Linked DNA regions of Homo sapiens: all the other regions are linked to region 3. The links are contacts of gene promoters, found by promoter capture Hi-C in blood cells and fetal thymus (Javierre and others, 2016). All regions are on one chromosome and are shown on one strand. The core of a region is centred on a gene start or on the middle of the fragment in contact, and the rest is flanking DNA. Distances in the headings are between cores, read along the strand shown.

Evidence for each region. Contacts are between HindIII fragments. The CHiCAGO score rates a contact against its expected background, and 5 or more counts as called.
Region 1: a fragment that was not itself captured here is called in contact with the fragment with the promoter of RAVER2 in region 3 in 3 of 17 cell types (neutrophils, M1 macrophages and M2 macrophages); the score reaches 7.1 in neutrophils.
Region 2: a contact is called between a fragment that was not itself captured here and the fragment with the promoter of RAVER2 in region 3, in 5 of 17 cell types (megakaryocytes, M0 macrophages, M2 macrophages and 2 more). The highest score is 6.9, in megakaryocytes.
Region 4: a contact is called between a fragment that was not itself captured here and the fragment with the promoter of RAVER2 in region 3, in 1 of 17 cell types (fetal thymus). The highest score is 5.1, in fetal thymus.

What each region holds. Positions count from the first base shown.
Region 1 is chr1:64,283,722-64,289,210 of GRCh38, forward strand. No RefSeq gene overlaps it. Among named protein-coding and RNA genes, the nearest start is that of UBE2U, 83 kb to the left of the region's middle. The HindIII fragment of the contact is 1,986 bases long and covers 1,005-2,990 here.
Region 2 is chr1:64,261,262-64,266,766 of GRCh38, forward strand. The region is part of intron 9 of UBE2U (ubiquitin conjugating enzyme E2 U); the gene reads left to right. Among named protein-coding and RNA genes, the nearest start is that of UBE2U, 60 kb to the left of the region's middle. RefSeq lists an enhancer at 1,370-2,569. The HindIII fragment of the contact is 6,631 bases long and covers 1-5,505 here.
Region 3 is chr1:64,741,854-64,748,084 of GRCh38, forward strand. RAVER2 (ribonucleoprotein, PTB binding 2) reads left to right here and starts at 3,222. Exons shown (of 12, transcript NM_001366165.2): 1 at 3,222-3,568. The coding sequence starts at 3,320. RefSeq lists silencers at 2,876-2,975, 2,996-3,195. The HindIII fragment of the contact is 6,103 bases long and covers 1-3,948 here.
Region 4 is chr1:65,062,703-65,068,496 of GRCh38, forward strand. It overlaps a transcript of JAK1 not described here. Among named protein-coding and RNA genes, the nearest start is that of MIR101-1, 7.1 kb to the left of the region's middle. RefSeq lists a silencer at 4,173-4,772. The HindIII fragment of the contact is 764 bases long and covers 1,495-2,258 here.

The sequences.
Region 1 (5,489 bases), core at 748-3,247, 460 kb before region 3:
CCAAGGCAGGAAGATCACTTATGCCCAGGAGTTCAAGGCCAGCCTGGGCAACATAGCAAGACTCCATCTCTACTTTTATTAAAACAAATAAATTATATTTTTAAAAAAGAAGGACAAGCGCAGAGGCTTATTGGCATTGAGGGTCAATGAATGGCCTGAATTATTAGGGTGTGCAAATCGAAATAATGTAGGATTCCAATGAGGGTGGGTTTTGAAGGCACTGACTATGGATTCCAGGGCAGGGAGATAGCTAAGTGGCAAAAGACACAAGTGAATTAAACCAAAATATTGGACACATGGCCAGGTAGTTAGGCAGAAAATGAGTAACTAAGTTATAAAATGAGTAAATAAGAAATCCAAACAAGCTAATCATAGTTTAAACTTGAACCCAGGGATGGATAAGGAAATAAAACAGAAATTTTAATTCAACTGAACAACCATTATGCCATTATGTCCTTGGCATGTGTTGGATTCAAAATTATAAGACACAGAGCTTACCATCCATATTTCATTTTCTTTTTCTTTTTCTTTTTTCTTTTTTTGCGACGGAGTCTCGCTCTGTCGCCCAGGCTGGAGTGCAGTGGCGCCATCTTGGCTCACTGCAAGCTCCGCCTCCCGGGTTCACGCCGTTCTCCTGCCTCAGCCTCCCGAGTAGCTGGGACTACAGGCTCCACCACCATGCCCGGCTAATTTTTTGTATTTTTTAGTAGAGACAGGGTTTCACCGTGTTAGCCAGGATGGTCTCGATCTCCTGACCTCGTGATCCGCCCGCCTTGGCCTCCCAAAGCATCCATATTTCAGTCTCTTTTGGGGTGGAAGTGTGAAGTTGTGGACCACAGTGTATATATTATACGTGAAACAAGTAGAAATGGGTTTTTAACTGAGGAAGGGATGGGAAAGGGAAGCATAAGAATCACCTAAGAAGTTTTTTCAATACATATTCTAGACTTACTCAGAATCTCTGAAGGCAGATGGAGATAAAAATGGGTTTGCCTGGTTTGAAAAGCTTCCCGGGAGGTTCAGATGTATTGAATTAGACTGGTACTTGCCAGCCTTACCTGATTAAAAGAATCACCTGAGGAACTTATAAAACACTAGATTTATCTAATTCCACCCACCTCCAGAGTTACCGATTCACAGCTGGTCTCACATAGAGCACAGAAATGCATACTTTTATTTTTCTAAAAATGACAAATAAATTATATATATTTATTGCATATGGAATGGCATTTTGGTATATGTATACATTGTGGAATGGCTAAATCAAGCTAATTAACATATGCATTTCCTCACATATTTATCATTTTTTTTTTGTGGTGAGAACACTTAAAATCTAATCACTTGGCAATTTTCAAGTAGACAAAATATGTCAGTAACTATAGTCACCATGATGTACGATAGATTTCTTGAACTTAGTCCCCCTCTCTACCTGAAGTTCTGTACCTTTTGATCCACATCCCCTCAGGTGCCCCCAACCCCTAGCATCTGGTGACTGCCATTCCGCTCTCAGCTTCTGAGTTCAGCTTTTTTAGATTGCCATGAAAATGAGATCATGCAGCATTTGACTTTCTGTGCCTGGCTTATTTCACTTTTCTTTTCTTTTCTTTTCTTTTCTTTTTTTTGAGACAGAGTTTCACTCTCGTTGCCCAGGCTGGAGTGCAGTGGCACGATTTCTGCTCGCTGCAACCTCTGCCTCCCAGGTTCAAGTGATTCTCCTGCCTCAGCCTCCCAAGTATCTGGAATTACAGGCATGTGCCACCACCCCTGGCTAATCTTTGTATTTTTAGTAGAGATGGGGTTTCACCATGCTGGCCAGGCTGGTCTCAAACTCCTGACATCTGGTGATCCACCCGCCTTGGCGTGCCAAAGTGCTGTACAGGCTTGAGCCACCATGCCCAGCCTTCACTTATGTTCTTTATGTCCGTTTATGTTGTTTTAAATGACAAGATTTCTTTCTTTTTTAAGGCTGAATGGTATTCCATTGTGTATGTATCCCACATTTTCTTCATTCATTCATCCCTTGATAAACACTTAGGTTGATTTTAAATCTTGGCTATTGTGGCTAGTGCTGTAATGAACATCGGAGTGCAGATCTCCTCAACAAACTGATTTCATATCCTTTAAATATATACCCAGGAATTCCTGGATTACATGGTGGTTCTATTTTTAGCGTTTTGAGGAAACTCCATACTGTTTTCCCTAATCGCTGTACTAATTTCTATTCCCTCCAACAGTATACAAGGATTTTCTTTTCTCCACATCCTTGTCAACATTTGTTATCTTCAGTCTTCTTAATTGTAGCCATTGTGAGAGGTGAGAGGGGTGATACCTCATTGTGGCTTTAATGGGCAAGAAATGTGTATTTTTAACAAGTGCCCAGGGTGAGTCTTATAAATGGGTAAGTTTGAAGAATACGGAATTAGATAACACTCACTTATTCAAGAAATGATCATTGAGCACCATCTATCTTGTTGAATGCTGGAAAACAGAGGAATTATTAATAGATCCATCTAATGAGTGTGTATGCTCCAAAAGATTGAGAACAGAGAACTAACTGGCATGGGAGCCTGAATGAATGTCTCTTTGTCAGGAAGGGGCAGTCATCACGTCCAGTGGCCGTGCCACAGAGTGGTGAGAGCATGGGCTCTGGGCCACACGCCTGGGTTTGACTTCTAGCTGTGCCACTGCCTGACTGTGTAACCAGGATGCCTTATTTAACCCAAGTGTACCTCATTTGTTATAAAATGGAAATGGTAATAAGTCTTCTAGGTTGCTGTGAGGTTTGGATTCATACAAGTATTCAATAAATGCTATTACTATTATTGTATTTTACAGTGCCTACTGTCTAGAGTGCTTTCACAAGCATGGATTCATTTGATCCTCACAATAACGTTGAGAGATAGGCATTATTATAAATCTCATTTTACAAAGGGATGAGACAATTGAAGCTAAAAGAGATCAAGAAATCCAAACAAGCTAATCATAGTTGAAGCTTGAACCCAGGTCTCTAAACACCACGTACTCTACTTTCTCTTATGACAAAATGAGGGAAACAGATTACAGAAGAAGCCTTGAGTACCAATTTTACAAAGTTAAACTTTATTCTGCATCTCTTAGGAAACACTTAAGCAGAAGACAGACATGTTGAAATTAGTGATGTGGAAAGTTGAATCTTCTGGGGGTACATGGAAAATTGATACCAGCGAGGACCTTGAGAGAGAGAGCTCAGCAGTTGATTCTGAGGGTAAACAGGGCTTTACAGGATGAGGTTGGAGAGTGCAAATGGAAATAGAGAGACAGAGACTGAAAAGAAAAGGAAATGTGCACTAATAAGCAATGACAGTTGATATACAAAATGCTTGCAATGTGATTGTTGAACGTTCAAAATTACAGCTGCTGTTTTTACTTCTAATTTTTAGGATCAAAAACTGAGAAAGTTATATATATTATCTTGTTTATTCTGCACGCTTGAGTACTCTTTCTACAACTTTGCCTAGAGCTTTATATTTGCCAAGTTCTGTAGTCATTATTATTTATTGTTTCTCACTTCAAGGGCCCAAGGTCTCAGCACTCAACTCTAAAAAGTGATATTAGAATGCCTTAGGGACCTGACTGCGGAGAAAGCTTTTCAGCATCCTAAGCATAAATATTTTCCAAGTAAAAGCATTGATTGGGAAGCTTGAATGGATAAAATTAACTGCTGCAATCTTAAAGATGTCTGGTTCACATCCTGGATAAAAAGGGAAGAAGCTTTATGGAGCCTATTAATGTCAATATCAAATGACATGAAACAGCATTAAGCTAACCTCCTCTCCAAAAGCTCATCTATTCAGTTATCTACTATTCCTTAGTGTGGTTCAGTGTCCAAAAAGGTTCCCCATTGTACAACCAGGTGGGAGTCATATGCTGCCTGCCTCCTTGTCAAGTAATGGATGTGATTTCAAGAGAGATTAAATTGATAGCTAAAGGTCACATGGCTAGTAAGTTACAGAGCCAATATTCAAACCAAGTCCTCATATCGATCTTTATTGCTCTTTTAGGCTTTCTGAGAAACTTGGCATTGAAAAATAATTTTTAAATAAAGTAAAAATGTTTAATTTCCATCATTTAAAATAATGATGAAAAAACTCAAATAGCTGAGAAGTGCTCAAATCAGAGAGCAAAATCACCCTCCCACGCCCCTCAGAGATAATCACCAGTCCAAGCTGATGACATCCTACCATCTAATGTGTGTAAGCATGTGTACATGTAAATCTATGTAATGTTCTCTTTGAAAAAAATAAGAAGGACCATTCTATTCATGTACTTCTACAACCTACTATTTTTTTCCTCAACACCAGATCCCAGGCAGCATTAACATAGAGATCTGCCTTGTTTGCTTTCAAAACCGTTTTCCAATACAACAAAATCTATTTAACTAATTCCCTATTGATGGGCATTAAAATACTTCTGTAACTATTGTGTGGCCATATTTCTTTGTAAACTAGTACTGTTATGGTGGAAACTCCTAGAAATTCGGTTGCTGGAGCAAAGGGAATATTTATGTTTTATTTTGATGGATATTTCCAAGTGTCAATTAGCTATCTAAAATAATTCATCCTCCAACGGAGTATAATCCTAGTTCTCCATATCCTCACCATTATGAAGTATTATTAATCTTTTCAATTTTTGCAGTATGATAAGTAATATGTTCATTTATTCATTCATTTATTCAATCAACACATATGTACTGAGTGCCTACCAAGTGCCAGGTACATTTTAGTTCCTCCAGATACTTCAGGGTAAAATACTAAGTTTGTTTCCACACAGATATTAATTTTGTTTTAGAGGTAAAAGGTAATAAATGTAATAACAAATATATACTGTGTATATAACAGATCAGGTGGTAATAAGAGTTATAAAGAAAAATACAACTAGATAAGCTTTGAAATTGTTCCAAACACTTACATAGTTTGCTACATGAGTGACAAGTTTTGCTATGATAAGAATTTGAAGTGTAATCTCCTTCCCCTTGACAATGTTATGTCACACATTATCAGACCTCATCCATTAGTTACTGACCTTAACTCATCCATGAATTACTGACTCCAAAATACATATAAACTCAAGAGCTTGGCAGACATTGAATGCTCAGCCTGTGGCAGTATACACTCTATCAGTCACTTCTTCAAGATTGCTGGCTCAGGCTGTAACAAGGCCGTGCTTAGTTAGCCTTTGAGCTTAAAGCCTCCTCAGCTGACACTAGCACTGCCCTCTAGCATCGCGAGACCTTAGGTGCCTTCATGGATCTCTCCTGTGTTGGTCAAGTCATCTCTCTTGAGAACCTGTCCTTTGACAGTATGCCTCAAATTTCACTTAGACTTTGCTTTCCACAGAGGCCCTGCTTCTATCCTAATTGAGCAACTAGACTAATAACTGGGCTCTAACAAAATTGGAACTCACTCTGTGGTTAATGTACGTCATCTATCAAGTGTATTCCCTCTAGATTT
Region 2 (5,505 bases), core at 1,724-4,223, 480 kb before region 3:
AAAGGTCACTCAACCTCTGAACTTAGTTTTTTTCATCCTTAGCTAGTACTGTGTATGTGGAAGATGTTCAACAAATCCTAGTTGCTAAAAATCTGCCCTTACTCACAGGATTCTTATGACTAAGTGACTCCATGTATAGACAATTTCTTTGTGAACTGAAAAGTACAAAAAAAAATAGTTACTGTTTTTTCCTGTCACCTGGCCACTAAACATAACAGCATATAAATGCCAGGCACAGGCAATCACCTTCATTCAGTGATTCTCCAAGGGCCCTGCCCCCGTATCTCCAAGTTTCTTTTCCCTGCTCAGTATCCACCTCTCTCCCTCCTAATTGTTTGGTGTGCCACGCAGATTTCCTCCTCTGTATTATCAGCCTCAGCCTTCTCCATTCAACTCTCCCTTCTTCCAGATTTCAGGGTACCTGTGAGGTAGGAAATGTTGCCTTCTCCAGCCTTGCTCTTTGCTTTCTCCATGATTTCCCTACTCCCCTCTGCAATCTCTGTCTTTCAACATCCCCACCATGTTCACCAGTGGAAGAGATCAGTTGGTTAAGTTGATGTGATTACAGTAATTTTTGTCTATGCTTTGTCAGACTGGTGACAAAGCTATGTCTCTATAGCTCAGCTCTGCTTATGTTTTTACCAGGTCTAAAATACTTTGTTTCCCATTTTCCTTCAGGATAAAATTTAGACTCTTTGACACAGAAAATCCTTAATGCTCTAATACTTGTCTCTGTCTTTGCAGTGACATTCCCTCCCTCTCCCCTTCACAACCTAAATGCTACACTAAGCTAGTGGGTCATGATTGTTTGTTCCCTACCTCATTTCATAAAAAAATTTGAGCAGTACACTGTGTTTTCTCATACCCCTACTCTAAATGCTCTTCTCTCCCCTTCTTTACTTTCTAATGCCTATGCATCCTTTGAGATTCAGTTCGGGTATTACCTTTTTTAGGAAACTTTCTTTGTGGGTTATCATAGCACTTCTACCATAGCCGTATCATGCTCTATTTGTTTTCTATTGCTGTGTCACAAATTAGCACACATTGAATGGTTTAAAACAACACACATTTATTATTTTACTGTTTCTGTGGGCCTGGAGTACAGGCACAGCTTAGCTGAATCCTCTGCTTAAGGTCTCAGAAAGCTGCAATCAAGGCTTTGGCTGGGCTGCATTCTCATCCTAGTGGTTTGAATGGGGGAGGAATCTGCTTCCCAGCCCAGTGAGGTTGTCGACAGAATCCATTTTCTTCTGTCTTTAGGAATGAGGGCCCTGGCTTCTGGCTGGGTATATGTGGGAGGCCTCCCTCAGCTGCTGAGGGCTGCACACAGTTCCTTGCCATATGGGCTCTCCCAGCCTGGCCTCCTACTTTATCCAGCAAGAGTCTTTAGAGCAAGTCTGATAGCAAGATGGAGTCATATGTGATGTAACATAATCATGTGAGTGAGACCTTATCACTTGCATCCTATTTTATTGGTTAGAAGTCATGGGTCCTATCCACACTCAGAAAGGAGGAGTTTACACTCAGGTGTAAATACCAGGATGCAGGGATTCTAGGGGCCATCTTGGAGTCTGTCCGGCACACATGCTGTGTTATTACTCTCTTTACTGCCTGTCTCCTTTGAAAAAGAGTGAGATTCTTGAGGGAAGGGACTGCTCACCTCCCAGTCTTCCACAGCACAGTGGTTGGCATACAGTAGCTATCAATGAGTAAGTAAATAGTAGGATGAAGTAAAATTGTCATGTTTTTATCTGCCTTGTGATTTGGGGGAAAAAAAGGTGAAAACCCATGATAAGTGGGGAAAAGGCAAGTTGGAAGAGACAACATTTTAAGTTTAATGTCCAGAAACTGGTTAGCGCTCCAGTGCTGAGCCTTGTCCTCTTTAATCATGGAATAGACTCCTTTCTGTCTACTCTGGAAGAAACTATACCTGAGAGGTTGTGGTAAATTTGATTATTGTTCAGAAATATTAATTCCTGCTCCACCTACATGAACAAAACATGTTTCCTTGTGCCTTGACTTTGAGCTTTTCCCTGTGACCTGTTTTCATCAGTGGAATATTAGTGGGTGCAGTGTGCCCCCAGGGTTTGGAAAGGGTTTGCATGATTTGGCTTGCTCTTTTTCTCTTCTGCCATCATCACCAGAGCGTGCCTGGACTGGCCCTCTGATCACAGAGAAAGATTCAAGGCATAGATCTGAGCTTGCCCACCCACGTTTCCCAGCCATTCCCCAGCCAAAGAAGCCAACCACCTATTGACCTGCTGACATGTGACCAAAACAAATACTTATTGCTGTATGTCACTAAGATTTTGTGGTTGTTTATTATGTAGCAAGAGAGTTATTATGTAGCGAGAATGAACTTATATAGGATATCAAAGGGAAGTATGACTCAGAAAAGGAAAGAATTGTGTGTCCCTCTTTTGCAGAGAAGGATGGCATGTCATAGTTTGCCAGTGGGAGAAACTCACCAGAGATTTGGCAGGTGGGAGGGAAGTTGAGGACATTATGCTTGGGAAGTTGTTCATATCAGGCATGGCGGGTTCCTCAGATATGGCATTTTCACACATCTCTCCACAGCCTCACTTCACAGACATGGTGGCTGCACAAATATCCCCATGAACTCATTGTTTTTGTCCCACTTTGGGTGGCTAAATGTGTGCAGCCTCTTGTACTCTATGAGCTCCTGGTTTCCCACTCGTGTCAGTGCATCAGACTAAAGTGGGTCACGACTCTTTTTTCAATTCTCCAGCTGTAGCTTCCAGATCTTCACTCCCCTGGGTCCTCCCACAGCTGGATAATCCCACATTCCTGTGTTAGACTCTCACTCTTGTATTACTTGTAGTGGCTCTGTTTTCCTAACTGAACCCAGGCTGAAAACAGGACTGAATAGAAATAAACCATTTGGCAATCATCAAAGCCCATCAGTCAGCACAGATTTTAATATCTTTATTAGCTAAACTATTTTCAGATTAAAAATAAATTATCAGAGGCAGAGTTTCCATGATCCAACCCAAGAAAGGCATGGAAAATATAAGGCAGTTAGAATTTGTGCTTCCATAACTTATTTTGTTAACATAGTAACAAAATCCCCACCTTTATTACTGATTCCAACCACCAAATCCAAGGTGTCTCAGAGAGATTTATAATGCTTAAGATTTCCTGGAGGAGAGAAATTCAAAATAATATTGTTTTTTATGTTCTAAAGAAACATTTCTATATTTATTTTGCATTATAGTCTGCTGATCTAGCCAGGTTTCTTTTTATGCTTCCTGGGAGTTTTTAACAGGGCAGGAACTAAGAAGGCAAATAGTCAAGGTGGTTGATTCCCAACTTTCATTCCACGCCAGCAACTCACGTCAGCCAATCATGGTGATCCCATTTCCCTTCCCAGTAACTAGTTTAGAAATGGGGCGGGGCGCAGTGGCTCACGCCTGTAATCCCAACACTTTGGGAGGCCAAGGTGGGTGGATCACCTGAGGTCAGGAGTTTGAGACCAGCCTGGCCAACATGGTAAAACCCCATCCCTACTAAAAAAAAAATTAGCTGGGCATGGTGGTGAATGCCTATAGTCCCAGTTACTTGGGAGGCTGAGGTGAGAGAATCACTTGATCCCAGGAGGCAGAGGTTGCAGTGAGCTGAAAGCACGCCACCGCACTCCAGCCTGGACAATGGGAGTGAAACCCTGCCTCAAAAAAAAAATTAAATTAAATTAAAATAAAAGAAATGGCATGTGACAGGATCCTGCTTGAGGGGAAATATGCTGGGCACTTCAGGGGATGGTTTTGCCGTCCACTCTTAAAAATGAGATCTTGGTGAGAAGATCGCTTTTTCCCCTGGATGTTGCTGTGTCCGGTGTGGTTACTAGAATGGCCGTAGCTCTCTTGCTATGCACCTGAAGATGAAGACAACACCTCAGTTAGCAAAGCAAGCAGTAAGAAGAGCTGTGTCCTTCGTGACATTGTGGAGTCACTGAAAACATTCAGTCTTGCTCTCCACTCTGGCTTTTCTCTTATGTGAGATAAAACACTCTCCTATTGTTTAAACTGGGTTGACTTGGCTTTATATTTCTTGTAATCAAAAGCATGTGGAGTCAGAAAGGCCCAAGCATGGTTAGAAAGAACTGGAGTTAGTCCATCAATAATATGTTCATGGAAAATAAATAGATGCTTTTCTCAAGGCACAGACAGAATTTAGTTTTAAATTAATTACAACTAAATATTAGTACCGAAAGTACAAAAAATTAAAAATCACTGTGGGCCTCAGGATAACCATAGGATAATGGTGACTGTGTAAACTCACATCTCTCTGTGTATCTTTCTCTCTTTGTTTTGTTTTGAGAGGGAGTCTCACTCTGTCACCCAGGCTGGAGTGCAGTGGGTCAATCTCAGCTCACTGCAACCTCTGCCTTCCGGGTTCAAGTGAGTCTCCTGCCTCAGCCTCCAGAGCAGCTGAGATTACAGGCTCCTGCCACCACACCCGGCTAATTTTTGTATTTTAGTAGAGACAGGGTTTCACCATGTTGGGCAGGCTGGTCTCGAACCCGTGACCTCAAGGGATCCACCTGCCTTGGCTTCCCAAAATGCTGGGATTACAGGTGTAAGCCACCATGCCCGGTCTGTCTGTGTATCTTTCTATAAACCAAAGACAGAAGGAAAACAAGTCACTTGTAGCCCATGTCTATAACATTAGAAGACAGCAAATATTACAGGGTTTATTTCATGTGTGAGGGAAATAAACATATGAGGCAAACAAAATTTGTCCTGGAACCCATAATCAGCAGTGAATCCGGTGACAACTAGGAAAAAGGGAAGAGAATGCAGTGAGATTTTAGAGTTAACAGAACATAAATAGTACCAGCTAGAGTTCATCCCCAGAAAGCAAGGTCCCCATGCTGTGTAGAAATATACATCTAGAAATATAGACATTATATCTATATTCTCCTTTTGAAAAGTATAATCAGTTTATTTCCCTGTTTACAAGGCCTATAAGATAAAGATGAAAGTCCTTTGCATGACATATGAGGCTTTCCTGATCTGGCTTCAGCCTCCCTTCCAGCTCCACGAAACTTTCTGTATACTATAACATTGTGTTTTTGGATAGACAGATCTGGGACGAGTCTTGTTATTAGCTGGATATCTTTGATCAAGTTACTATAGGTTGCTCAGCCTCAGTTTCCTCATCTGTAAAATAAGAATAATAATACCTGCCCATCACAAGGGTTGTGTCTGAGTTAAATAATATTATAGCTGTCGACGGGTTAGCACCGCACCTGGCACAGTGGAAGCGCGGGAGAATCCATTCTGATCACCCCTAACCCTGTCAAGTCCTCTCATACCTTTGTGCTTATACGATGTGTGCTGTTTCTTCTATCTAACATGTTCTGACCTCCCTTCTCTGTCTAACAAACTGGTCTTCCTGTTTCAAAGTCCGACTCAGTTTTCACTTAGACACAGTGATTCCCTCCCTGTGCTCCCAAAGCAGCTTTTCCCTTGCACATCAACTGGC
Region 3 (6,231 bases), core at 1,972-4,471:
CCACTACCCTATACGACGTAGCAATATTGCACAAGGAGTGGGATCAATTCAAAGTAGCCACTTAATAAAATTGGCTTAATAATTTGATAACATTGTAATCATGTCCCCATTGGGGCCAAAACTGGAATTACATTATCATAACTCCCAAAACATAATCAACACCTGATTCATTCACCAGACTTAACCTCAAATAACATTTAATTATTTCCAAAAATTAAACCCATCTCTAAGAGGTGAGTATTTGCTACCACATAAACTATGCAGAATAATTTGCTGTAGATTATAAAGTCAATTCCAAAAAAGCACTTTGGGGCTGGGCGTGGTGGCTCACGCCTGTAATCCCAGCACTTTGGGAGGCCGAGGCGAGCGGATCATGAGGTCAGGAAATCAAGACCATCCTGGCTAACATGGTGAAACCCCGTCTCTACTAAAAATACAAAAAATTAGCTGGGCTTGGTGGCACACGCCTGTAGTCCCAGCTACTCTGGAGGGTAAGGCAGGAGAATCGCTTGAACCTGGGAGGCGGAGGTTGCAGTGAGCCAAGATCACGCCACTGCACTCCAGCCTGGGCAACAGAGCAAGACTCCGTCACAAAAGAAAAAAAAAAAGCACTTTGGAGAATGTTTTGAGCAAAAGCAATCACTGAAGTTATATTCAGACCACTATCCGTTTGCATATTTATTATATTTAATTATAATCATTGCATAATTTTCTCTCAGTGAGACTTAGCCCCTATTGTACAGGAGCATTATTTTACTATTTCTGTCTTCTTATTGCCTTTATATATTATCTAGCACATAAGGGACATTTAATAAATGTTTGCCAAGGAGGTGGTACTCATTTGGATAAATACATGTTCTGAAACATAATGAATGACTCAAGGTTACAGCCTATGCTAAGGCTATTCATGCTTCTTCACTTCAAAGAATGTACTTTTCAAAGTCTCTCAGCTCTACAAAATAGGGCCTTATTGGAGTTTAAAATGTATACCTTTTAAAATCAAAGGAATACAATTTAAAAGCAAAATGATACATTAATACTAGAATATCATGGATGCAAGCAGAGAAATAAGTGCTCTTATACAATGCTTGTGATAGGGAAAACTGAGGTAAGTTTGTAAATACATACAAAAAATCCTTAAATATGCTTACTCTAGATGCAGAAATTTTGCTTCTAGTTCTTCACTCTGTGGAAAAGTAATGATCTTCAAATATGTATAGAGGGTTAAACTCAGTGCTGTTTACAATAGATAAAAATAATAGGAAATACTAATGCTAGGAAATAAGTGAATTTTCTAATTCAACAGAATAATATGCAGCCATAAAAACCATGGTATTCAAATACATTGGCATAGAAAGGGATTCAGCAGACATACTGTAAAAAGCAGAAAACAGAGCTGTAAACTACAGAATATCATTCAAAAACATTTTTATGCAGTAATAGTCACGTAATAAAATTAATATTTTAAAAGTGAATAGTTCAGTGACTATTTAGTACATTCATATTATTGGGCTACTGCCCCCTCTGTCTAGTTCCAAAACTAGATTTTCATCATTCCATAAGGATGTTTGCACCCATTACCTTCTCCTCCAGCCCTTGGTAAACACCAATCTGTGTTCCGCTCTATGAATCTACCTATTCTGATATTTTATACGCATGGAATCATACAATATATGACCTTTTGTCTCTGGCTTCTTTCATTTAATGCTTTGGAGGTTCGTCCACCTTGTAGGGGTCCTTAATTCCTTTTTATGGCTAAAAATATTTCTTAGCATATATATATCCCACGCTTTGCCTATCTGTTCATCAATAAATGGACATTTGGGTTGTTTCTATCCTTTGGTTACCAGGAATAGTGGTGGTATAGAAGGGTGTATTGCCGAATATCATTTTAATGATACAAGTATTAGCAGCCATTATTTTTGGGTGGACGGATTACGGGTGAATTATTTTATGTTATTCAGAACACTGGGCTTTGGAATCAATCAGAACAGATCCCATTTCCTCACGTGTAAAGTGAGGAAAACAAAACCTACGTAATTGAATGATCATGAAGAGTAAATAAATATGTATATGTAAAGCATTTAGAAATGCGTGGTTGGGGGGAGCACATGGTAAGGACTGAATTTGTAGTATTTTTAAAAAATCTTTAAAACATTTTGTTTTTCTTTTAATTAGTGTTAAAGTCTTTTTTTTTTTTTTTTTTTTTTTTTTGCTAGTGTACTTGCATGCTACACAATTAAGATGCATGGTCCCCTTCGCTGATGGTCACCTGGGCTAGTGCCAAAGGCTGCTGGATTGTTTGATCTGATGACATCCGTTTGACTAAGTATAGTTCTACACTGTAACTCTCCCTCCAAGTTTCAATTAAAATAATGTTCCAAGCAGCGTATTCTCCAGCCCCTCTGCCACAGCTCCTTTTCCATTCTAGTCTTTGTTTCAGCATCACTTTCCATGTTGCAGACCCAACTACCCAGGTTTTACATTTTAGGAACTGCATGACAGGGACAGAGGGACAGGTGAAGGGCACAGGCTTTCTCATACACAGCTAGCAAAATACATTACGATCAGGTTTTACCAAATACATAACATTTCTCCCACAATGTCCCTCTTTTTACTCCCCAGAAAATCTCATTGTAAACTCAAACTTTGCCAAATATGCTCTTCTTGAACCAACAGAAGGGTTACCATCGGGAGCCAGCCGGGCTGCAGGAGGCGCCCTCCTGCCACCCCTCCAGCCCCATCTCGGGTGTGGGAAGACCGAGTTCGCGCCCGCAGCCCCCGGGCCGCCCCAGCGCGGGAGTTTCGAGGGGAGCCGGGGGAGAGCTGCGGCGTCACATGGGGGGCCAGCCGGGGACAGGCGCCTGGGGCTGAGTCTCCCGGCGAAGCCACCGCGAAGGGGCCGCATCCCCCAGAGAACGACCCTGGGCGTTCGCGAAGGCCTCGCAGAGAGGGGGAGCCCGCCTGCGCGTCCGCGCCCTCACAGGTGTCCGGGTGGCGGCGCCCGGCCCCGCCTGCGGACCCGCGAGAGGCGGGCGCGGGCGCGCCTGTGCGCCGGGGCCGGGGGCCGGCGGGGGAGGTTCCCGCGAGGTGGTTCTCGGGCTCCTCCTCGGCGCCTCAGGTTTCCTCTCCCCGCCAGCAGGCTGCTGGCTGCGGCGCCGCCTCTCTCTACTCCCTCCTCCCACCGCCCCCCTTCCCCGCGGTTGGGCCCACTCTGCGGCCTCTGCCCGCCTCGCCCTCGCCCGGGCCTCCTCCCGCTTTCTCTCTCCGCTTCCCCTGGAGCCTCCGAGGAGTCCGCAGCCGCTGGGCGCCCGGGAAGATGGCGGCGGCGGCGGGAGACGGCGGCGGCGAGGGGGGCGCGGGCCTGGGCAGCGCGGCGGGGCTGGGGCCGGGGCCGGGGCTGCGCGGGCAGGGCCCCTCAGCCGAAGCGCACGAGGGCGCCCCGGACCCGATGCCCGCCGCGCTGCACCCTGAGGAGGTCGCCGCGCGACTGCAGCGGATGCAGCGGGAGCTGAGCAACCGCAGGAAAATCCTGGTGAAAAACCTGCCCCAGGACAGCAACTGCCAGGTACTGGGACGGTGATAGGGGCGACGCGTCCCGAGGGGCGGCGGGGCGGCGCTCCGTGTCCAGGCTGGGATCGGGGGCGCCTCAGAGCGGTCCTGGGGAGTGGGTCGGCGCCGAGTGGTGAGAGCGGCCCCTCGGTTTGACTGAGTTCTTGGGGTTTCTAGCCTGCAGACGCCCTGCCAGGGAGGGGGGCAGATTGGGAAACTGAGGCTCTGAGTGGCGAAGCGGCTTCTCCAAGGTCACGGGAATCAGGGGCTGCTGCCTCCAAGTTCGGCCCGGTCTTTCCTTCCCCTACGGCCGTAGAGGAGTAGGAGGTGAAGGAGAGTGGAGGTGAGTTGTGGAGCACACATTTTGCGGGGGGGAGCGGGGGTAGAGGGGGCCGAAGCTTCGGGAGCACCTTGGCAGGGGCGAGGGCTCCAACGTATAGTCCCCGGTGCTCGGGAGTGCCATAGGGGGCAGGGGCACGAGAGAGCTGGGAGTGAGTTTCGCTGTTGTTGCAGAAGCACTTGCCCAAGTTTCTATGAAACAACTCTGTCTTCTCAGTTTGCTAAGGCCCCAGAATAGAGTTATTGCTGCGCTCCTTGGAGCCTTGCAGCCGCCTCCTGCTACGCCAAGTACAGTACTGGAGGGTTTGTTCTCAGTGACTTGGATGAGGTTTAAAGATAGCTACTCTGTGTATTTAATCCAGATTAACTGTTGCTTTTAAGATTAGAAACTCTGCATCTATTTAACTTTTTTTTTCCCCTGATTTCAAAAGCTGCATGCTCATTGTAGGAGAGCTAGGAAAGACAGAGAAGCACAAAGGGGACACAGAAATTACCCATATTTCTGATACCTGAAGATAACCATTGTTATCCTGGGATGTTGTTCTTTTCTCTTTTCCTATGCATATATATTTTTGTTTTATCAAAAGCTTGAAATCATTTCTTTGATTCTTCAGGATTTCTTAGCTGTCTGGATGTTCACACATGTTTCACATATAACCTGAATTTATATACTGCTCCGAGTGTGGTGGGCTGTCCTGGTAGTTGCGGATTTGTAGTTCCTCCTGTAACCGGATGCATGAAATTGCAAGAGGGCTGGCTATTGACAATTGCATGGCAGTTCTTCCATGTGACTTATAAAATAATGAGACCAATGCCCCATTACTATGTAATGAGACCTTACATAGCCATTCACAATAAATATGAACATATAACCTTATAACCCGTAGGCATGGGGGGCTATTTTGTTTCAAAATGCAGTGTCTGTCAGTATTGTTTATCTCATCTGTCTTTCAACTCTTTCCATTCCGCCATGGTCCACTTCCCATCTGTCAGGTAATGTTTTGTGATACTACCTGTTAAGGACACCTGCAATGGACTGATTTCTTGGAAGCAGCCTCCCCTGCCCATACAAATAGAGGACTGTAAGGGAGCTCAGGAAGGAGGAGGCTTGGAAGAAGCAGATGGCATTTTTTAAAAAAACAAATTTAAAAAATAGCAGCTCTTTGTATAGACAGTCTAGGAGGAGAGAAATAGAGAAGTATCTCAATGTCTTTGTAGAATGTCAGCTGTTTTTGTTATCACAATTCCTTGCATTAATTCTAAATATATTTAGACCCCAAATTGAAGACGTTCTGTCTATTCTTGCTTTGCTGTTGGTATCTTTCTCATTTCCCTTCGCAATAGACATGAAAAATATATCAAAGGGTCTAATAAAAGGAGCAGTTTTAATTAGTGATAGAAGCTTTCTCAGAATTACACTGGGATTTGTATTTTTGAGATTTCATCTACTTAAACTAATATTTTCATATGTTCTGCATGAATTTTTTTGTATTTTTTGTTTTAACAATTTCCCTTAATTATAATGTCTGCTTTTTCTTAGTGACTATATTTTACTGTCAACTTACTGATGAAAGTTTCACTTTATTTTATTTTGTGTCTTTTTGCTAGTAAGGCCTACATAAAATCACCTGTGCTAAAACTACATATTTACCCTTATGAAATGGTTAATATGGCTTTTGTTCAATTATTAAGTAATCAGATATTTTTGAAATACTAAGTTCTTGTTCTTTTCCAGAAGAGACTGTGTTTATTCATTCATTTCTTTCTTTCTTTTTTTTTTTTTCTGAGACAGAGTCTCGCTCTGTCATCCAGGCTGGAGTGCAGTGGCGCGACCTCAGCTCACTGCAACCTCTGCCTCCCAGGTCCAAGTGATTCTCCCTGCCTCAGCCTCCCAAGTAGCTGGGATTACATAAGCCTGCCACCATGCCTGGCTAATTTTTGTATTTTTTAGTAGAGATGTGGTTTTGCCATGTTGACCAGGCCGGTCTTGAACTCCTGACCTCAGGTGATCCCACACGCCTCGGCCTCCCAAAGTGCTGAGATTACAGGTGTGAGCCACTGTGCCTGGCCTCATTTCTTTATTTTAGAATATCACTTTAAGGATCAAAGACATTCATAACTCTAGTTCTCAAACTGTGTATTTATGTCTCTAGAAAATACTGATCAATAACTTACTAGTAGAAACCCAATAATTTTTTCTTAACATTTGAAATATATGAGTGTTTTCTTTATTAAATGTAGTTTTCATAAATCTCAAATTTTGTTTTATTTTTGGTATAGCAGATTTATAATAGCATCCCACAACTTTATAGTTCCTATAATTAAAAGGCATACTGAAAG
Region 4 (5,794 bases), core at 627-3,126, 320 kb after region 3:
TGGTGCTGTTTATATCTTATTTCCTCAAGTCAACAGGACTCTTTCTAAAAAAGTCAGAAACTGTTTTACTCATGTCCCTTCACAACACTTAGTGGTCATTTCCACAAAATGCTAGCTCAACAGATACTTGATTGATTGATTAATTGATGAACCTCTCCATTTCTCAGGGAGCCTCTAAACAGTTATCAACAAGAGTATGTTTAATTCCAGTCTCTGTCTATATGGTCTTAGGTGAGGTGTTTGGCAGTTTGTCATCTATAAAATAAAGGGATAGCACCGAATAGCTCCTAAGTTCCTTCCAGTGCAATTTCTGAATCTCATTAGACAAAACAAAACCCAAAGACAGCACTACCTCTATTCACGTTAGCATTGTACTTTTTTTGGAGGAAAGGAGTCAGCAGCCTTGTGGGCCCAAATGCCACGAGTGGAGCCGTGATTTGGTGGGGAGGGGGACAGAAAGTAGATGAAGCAAAGAAAAAATAAATGGAAGTGAGTGACAGATGAGTAGAATCACTAAAATGCCACCAGGTGTCACAATTGTTACTTTGCCACACATTGTTTTCCGGTACCTTTTGCTATGTTCAGGATCCTTTTACAAAAGCAGCAATAGCCGGGTATGTGGGTATCCCAATTTTCCCATGACACCCCTGCTAGCCGTTCTAGAACCCTGGACTTTTACACTAATCTCCCTAATATAACAGTAATAATGTAATACTTGGGGTCCCCAATCATCACATGGAACACAGCAGTGGAAAATAGAAACACAAACATGAAATAACAATATTTCATACAGTCACCACTTTTGAAATTAATCCATGGGGCTAGGCACAGTGGCTCATGCCTGTAATCCCAGCAGTTTGGGAGGCCAAGGCGGATGGATCACCCGAGCTTAGGAGTTCAAGACCAGCCTGGCCAACGTGGGGAAACCCCATCTCTACTAAAAATACAAAAAATCTGCCGGGCGTGGTGGCACACACCTGTAGTCCCAGCTACTCTGGAGGCTGAGACAAGAGGATCGCTTGAACCTGGGAGGTGGAGGTTGCAGTGAGCCAAGATCGCGTCACTGCACTCCAGCCTGGAAGACAGAGAGAGACTCTATCTCAAAAAAAAAAAAAAAAAAAGAAAGAAAAAAAGAAAAGAAATTAATTCATAGATGAAAAGGAGTAATGCAGGCCTGAGCTGTCCAATGAAGTATATAATGCAAGCTACACATGTAATTTTTAATTCTCTAGTAGCCACACTAATAAACAGGTGGAATTAATAGCATATTCATTTAACCCAATATATCTAAAATATTATCATCTGAACATGGAATCAACATAAAATTAATGGGCTATTCTACTTTTTTTGCATTCTTTGAAATCTGAAGATTACTTTGCACTTACATATCCCAATTCTAAATTTTCATCAAAATACTTAATTTGCGTTTGGATTTCAAAACACTTAGTTTCAAAAGTAGATGCGTAAGCTCAAGTATGTTTCCAAATATAAATAAGCTTTCCAATAACTAAATCAAGTTATCAAAGTCTAAAATTAAATAAAATTTAAAATTGAGCTCTTCCTCACCCTAGCCATATTTCAGGTGGTTAATAGCCACGTGGCTAGTGGCTACCATATTAGGGCAGGTATCCTGTCTCTGTCACCTGGATTCTTTTAAACCCGAACCAGAGTAAAAGATGTTACCCCATCAACCAGAAAGTCATCTTACAGCACCCACCAAGTGCTCAAATTATACCAAGTATTTTCTGCTCCACTTCCAATCTTTAAGTTGTCAACACTTCAGTGATTATCGTTTATTAGGTAGCCCTTCCAAAAGACTGAGTATTTTAGCTCAGAGAGGAAAGCATATCTCAATTCAGGGACTGAATGGAGACACTGAGTGAGATTCAAAGACAAGAAGTTAATTTCCAAGGTAGAGGTGGAAAATCCTGACATCCTTACTTCTTTGTCCAGGGTATCAGTCACCTACAAAAGTTACAATTATTGTTTATCACAATTATTGTTTATGAGCCTCTCAACTTACATACTCACAGCAGCTGTCACTGCATCCTCAGGTTCTCTGTCTTCAAGTGCCCTCCTAGCTTCCTGAAACAACCTTCTCTATCTAGAGCAGATTCTGCAGAGAGGCCCCTCTTTAATTCATATTCTGAAACGTGCTTGTTATTGTTGACGTACAAAAACTTATGAATAATTCAATAAATGAATCTTGAACCATCCTATTTATCATTCAGTGGTCTAGGTACCCAACTCTAGAGGAAAGCTTTTCTGAAATACACGGTAAGTATCCCCCAACCCTCCCTCAAAGGAACCAATTATGAACACTATACAGTCTTCTCTCCCTTCTCACTCCCCATGTCAAAGTTCATTGTGTTCCTCCTGCAGCTGATTTAAAAGTTGATCTTTTCAAGGAGCTGGATTCCTAAGGTAGTTCTATTTTGAGCCTTCTTCCTGTTCTGAAGCTAAAGTTGGAAGGGCTTAGGTGGTGATGTCATGGAAGGGAGACTGTTGGTTTTTATAGGAGGGTCTTCTCTGGCAACTCTGGGGATGCTCAAATGGGGAAAACTCAGAGTGTTACTTTTGATCTTTTCCCCCCTCCTTCCCTTTATAGAATATCAGCTATTCCTTAGCCAGCAAGAAAACAAGTTCAAATAAGCCTGCAAACAGATTTACATATTTTACATGCTAAACATCTAATAAATGAAAAGACTGAGAAAAAGAAAAATGCCTCACTGTAAGGAACAGAGGGTGACAACCTCTTTCTCCACCCCTCTCCCCAAATATCTATCACAGAACAAGGGGCAAAGAGGAGGGGAGGGTCGACTGGTAAGCAGAATAAAGGGATTATAAAGCTAGGAGGCTTTTAGAGGGAAACGCTGTTGGAATATTCAGGACAGGAGACCCTTGGGTCCCTGCTCTTCCTCTGTGTTTTCCTCCCTTTTGGAATGGTTAGACTTGGGCTGGGTGTGTCTTCTGCTTGGGAGGCGTTTTTTTTGGCGCTGGAAAAGCAAAAGGGGCCAGGGTGGGGCCTGGGGAAAGAAAGCCAGAGACAGGCTGCTTAGGCCTGGCTCTGGGTTAAGCTTAAGGGGAAAATAAAGGGGGCTACGGAGGGACAGCAGATTCCATTAGAAGACCCAGAGGGGAATAAAAAACAGCGCACTGGCCAAAGGGGGTCACTTCTCTCTCTCCCTCAACCTAGGCCCAGGAGCTATTTGCTGGTTGGTGGGGGACAGGTCCAGAGGGAAGAGAAAATCCCAAAACATCTGCAGATCACAACTTGCCGGGGGAAAGGGGGGCTGGGGACAGACATGCCAAATTAAATCAGCAGGTGAAAGCAGCAATTTTTGGCCAATGCTGGGATTGCGGAGAGGACTAACTAAGAACCCTGGAGAGCAGGGGATTCCCTGGTTTCTCAGCTCACCTCTCCTTCAAAGCAGGGATAAGCACAGGTGTGGTCTTTCTCCAGGAAGGTGGCAGCTGGCGTGCGGGTAGCAGAGTGAGGGAAAGAATTCCTCGCACAGGAAGGCAGGGAGAAGCCCTGGGGTCAGCTGCGGCCAGGAGCCGGCGTCTCCGCCAAGTCCCCTCCCCCTTCCTGAAAACCGACCTGGACCAGCACAAATTACAGCAAAGCACCCCTCTCCCCAATAATGTTTCTAATAAAAGAAACAGACTCTCATGCCTATATTAAAAAACCACGAGCTCTAGCTGATGGAAATAAACAGGTGAGCCCGGGGAGAAGCGGGAAAACACTGGGAATGGGAGAATGAAGGGGGAGAAGGCGTTCCCGAACGTGCAGAGAAACCGAGGCTTCCCCGCCCTCCCTCCACCCTCCTCCCCTCCGGCCGGGGAGAATCTGCGTGGCAGGGTGCAAGCTAAAAATGCCACTGACGGACCCCTCTTCCCGCCCCGTGCCCGTTCTCCCTCCTACCCCAGACTCCAGCGTCCCGGCCTCGTGGTAGCGCCCGGTCCCCGGCGCCGCGCGGGGCTCGCCCTCTCTCCGGACCGCCGCCGCCGCGGGGACTCCGGTCTTCCTCTCTTCTCCCTCCCTCCTCCTCCTCCTCCGGCACCGCCGCCTCCTCCTCTTAGACTCCTCCCGCCGGATCCTTCATGTAAACAACATCCAGGCTCTATTTACAGTCGCCGCCGGACGGCAAGGGACCCACGCCAGCACCCTGGACGCGGGCGGGGGCGGGGGAAAAGCGAGTGCGCAACATTTACACACACACCCCGCCCCTCCGCGCCGCTCCCCTCCGGGGGCCGAGCCAGGCGCCCGGGGCTCCCCGCGTTGCCACTGACACCCCAGCGAGGGCCGCGCAAAACCGCGGAAATGCCCATGGGCGAGGTCGCCCCGCTACCCCTCGGGAAAAACACACGCACGCGCTAACAACAACAAACCCAGTCCGGCAACACCCTCGCAGTCGGTCCCGGAGTGCGGAGGCCCGGCCCGGCCCGCCCCGCGCCGCCGCCCCCGCGCTCCGCCGCCTACCCCGAGGTGGCGAACTGCGTGCGGTCCCCGGAGGAGGCTGAAGGCAGGCGCTAGGCGCTGGGCAGTGGCGCGCCCTCGGCCCCCGGCGCCGCCTGGCCCGCCCCCAGACCCCAGTGCGGATGCCTAGCGGGCCGAGCCCCACGGCTGCGTGTGCGTGTGCGCCGCGGCCAGCCTCGCCGGAGCCGCTCTGTGCGCCCCACGGCTTCCCGCGTCCCCAGGCCGGCTCCGACGCGCCGCGAGACGGGGCCGGGAGCGCAGCAGCCAGCGCTCCACGGCGGCGCACGGGCGCGCACTCGGACGTCCACACTCTGCGCCCCGAGCCTCGCGCGGCCGCACGCCCCACGCAGCCCGCCTCCCGCGGGCGCTCGGCCCCGCGCGCCCCGCCGCCCCCGCGCCCGGCCGCCGCCCCCACACCCACCTGCGCCCCCGGGGGTCCCGGGCTCCCCTTCCTTTGTTCTTCCCGCTATTTGCATGAGGATTATCTAATGACGCAGCAAGGCTCGCCACAACGTGACCGTCGCCATTTTTCTGTTTTTATTCTATCTCTGCCATGTGATAGATGGCGGGGGGGTTGGAAAAGGGAGAGAGACGGGATTAAAAAAAAAAAAAAAAAAAACTTCCGGGTCTCATGACCGGGAAGGGAGAAAAACAAAAGGGAGACGAGACACAACTCTAAGGGAAGGATGTGTGTGCGTGCGTGTGTGTATGAGAGTGTGTGTACGTGCGCGCGCTCTCCCTCCTCTGCTGGGAGAAAGGAGGCTCCGGCAGCGGACAGGCAGCAGCCATCCTCCCACCCTGGAGACCAGTGGCCCCGGTGGGTCCAGCTCGCACCCTCTGATTGTGGCGGTCGCCCGTCCTGGTCCCCCACGCGCCGCGGAAGCTGGGGGAGCTGTCAGCCTGCTCCCCTCCTCTGGCTGCCTTCACTCGCCTGTCCGCCCCAGAGCTCGCTTTCCCTCCCGGGCGGCTGTACCGTTGTGGGCTACGTTCAGAGAAGTCCCACTATTGCCATGAGCAGGGACATAATAGAGTTTAAAGGCCGCCGTATTTTCTAAGTTTTAAAACAGTTTGCTTCGACGCCGTTGTTTATGACAACCGCGTGGCAACACCAGGCACAATCTAATGTTGGTTCCAATCCTTCCCCTCTTTCTCTACCCCCGCTTTCCCCCTTTTCCCAAAGTGGGGCACAACTTGGTGTGGTCTTCAATGGGGATTGGTTTTGTGGGGATGGACCATTCACTACGGATTGATTGATTTAAGAACCGCTTATTTAAATAAGTGGTGTTCAGGGTCAGAGGATTGTTTCAGAAGACA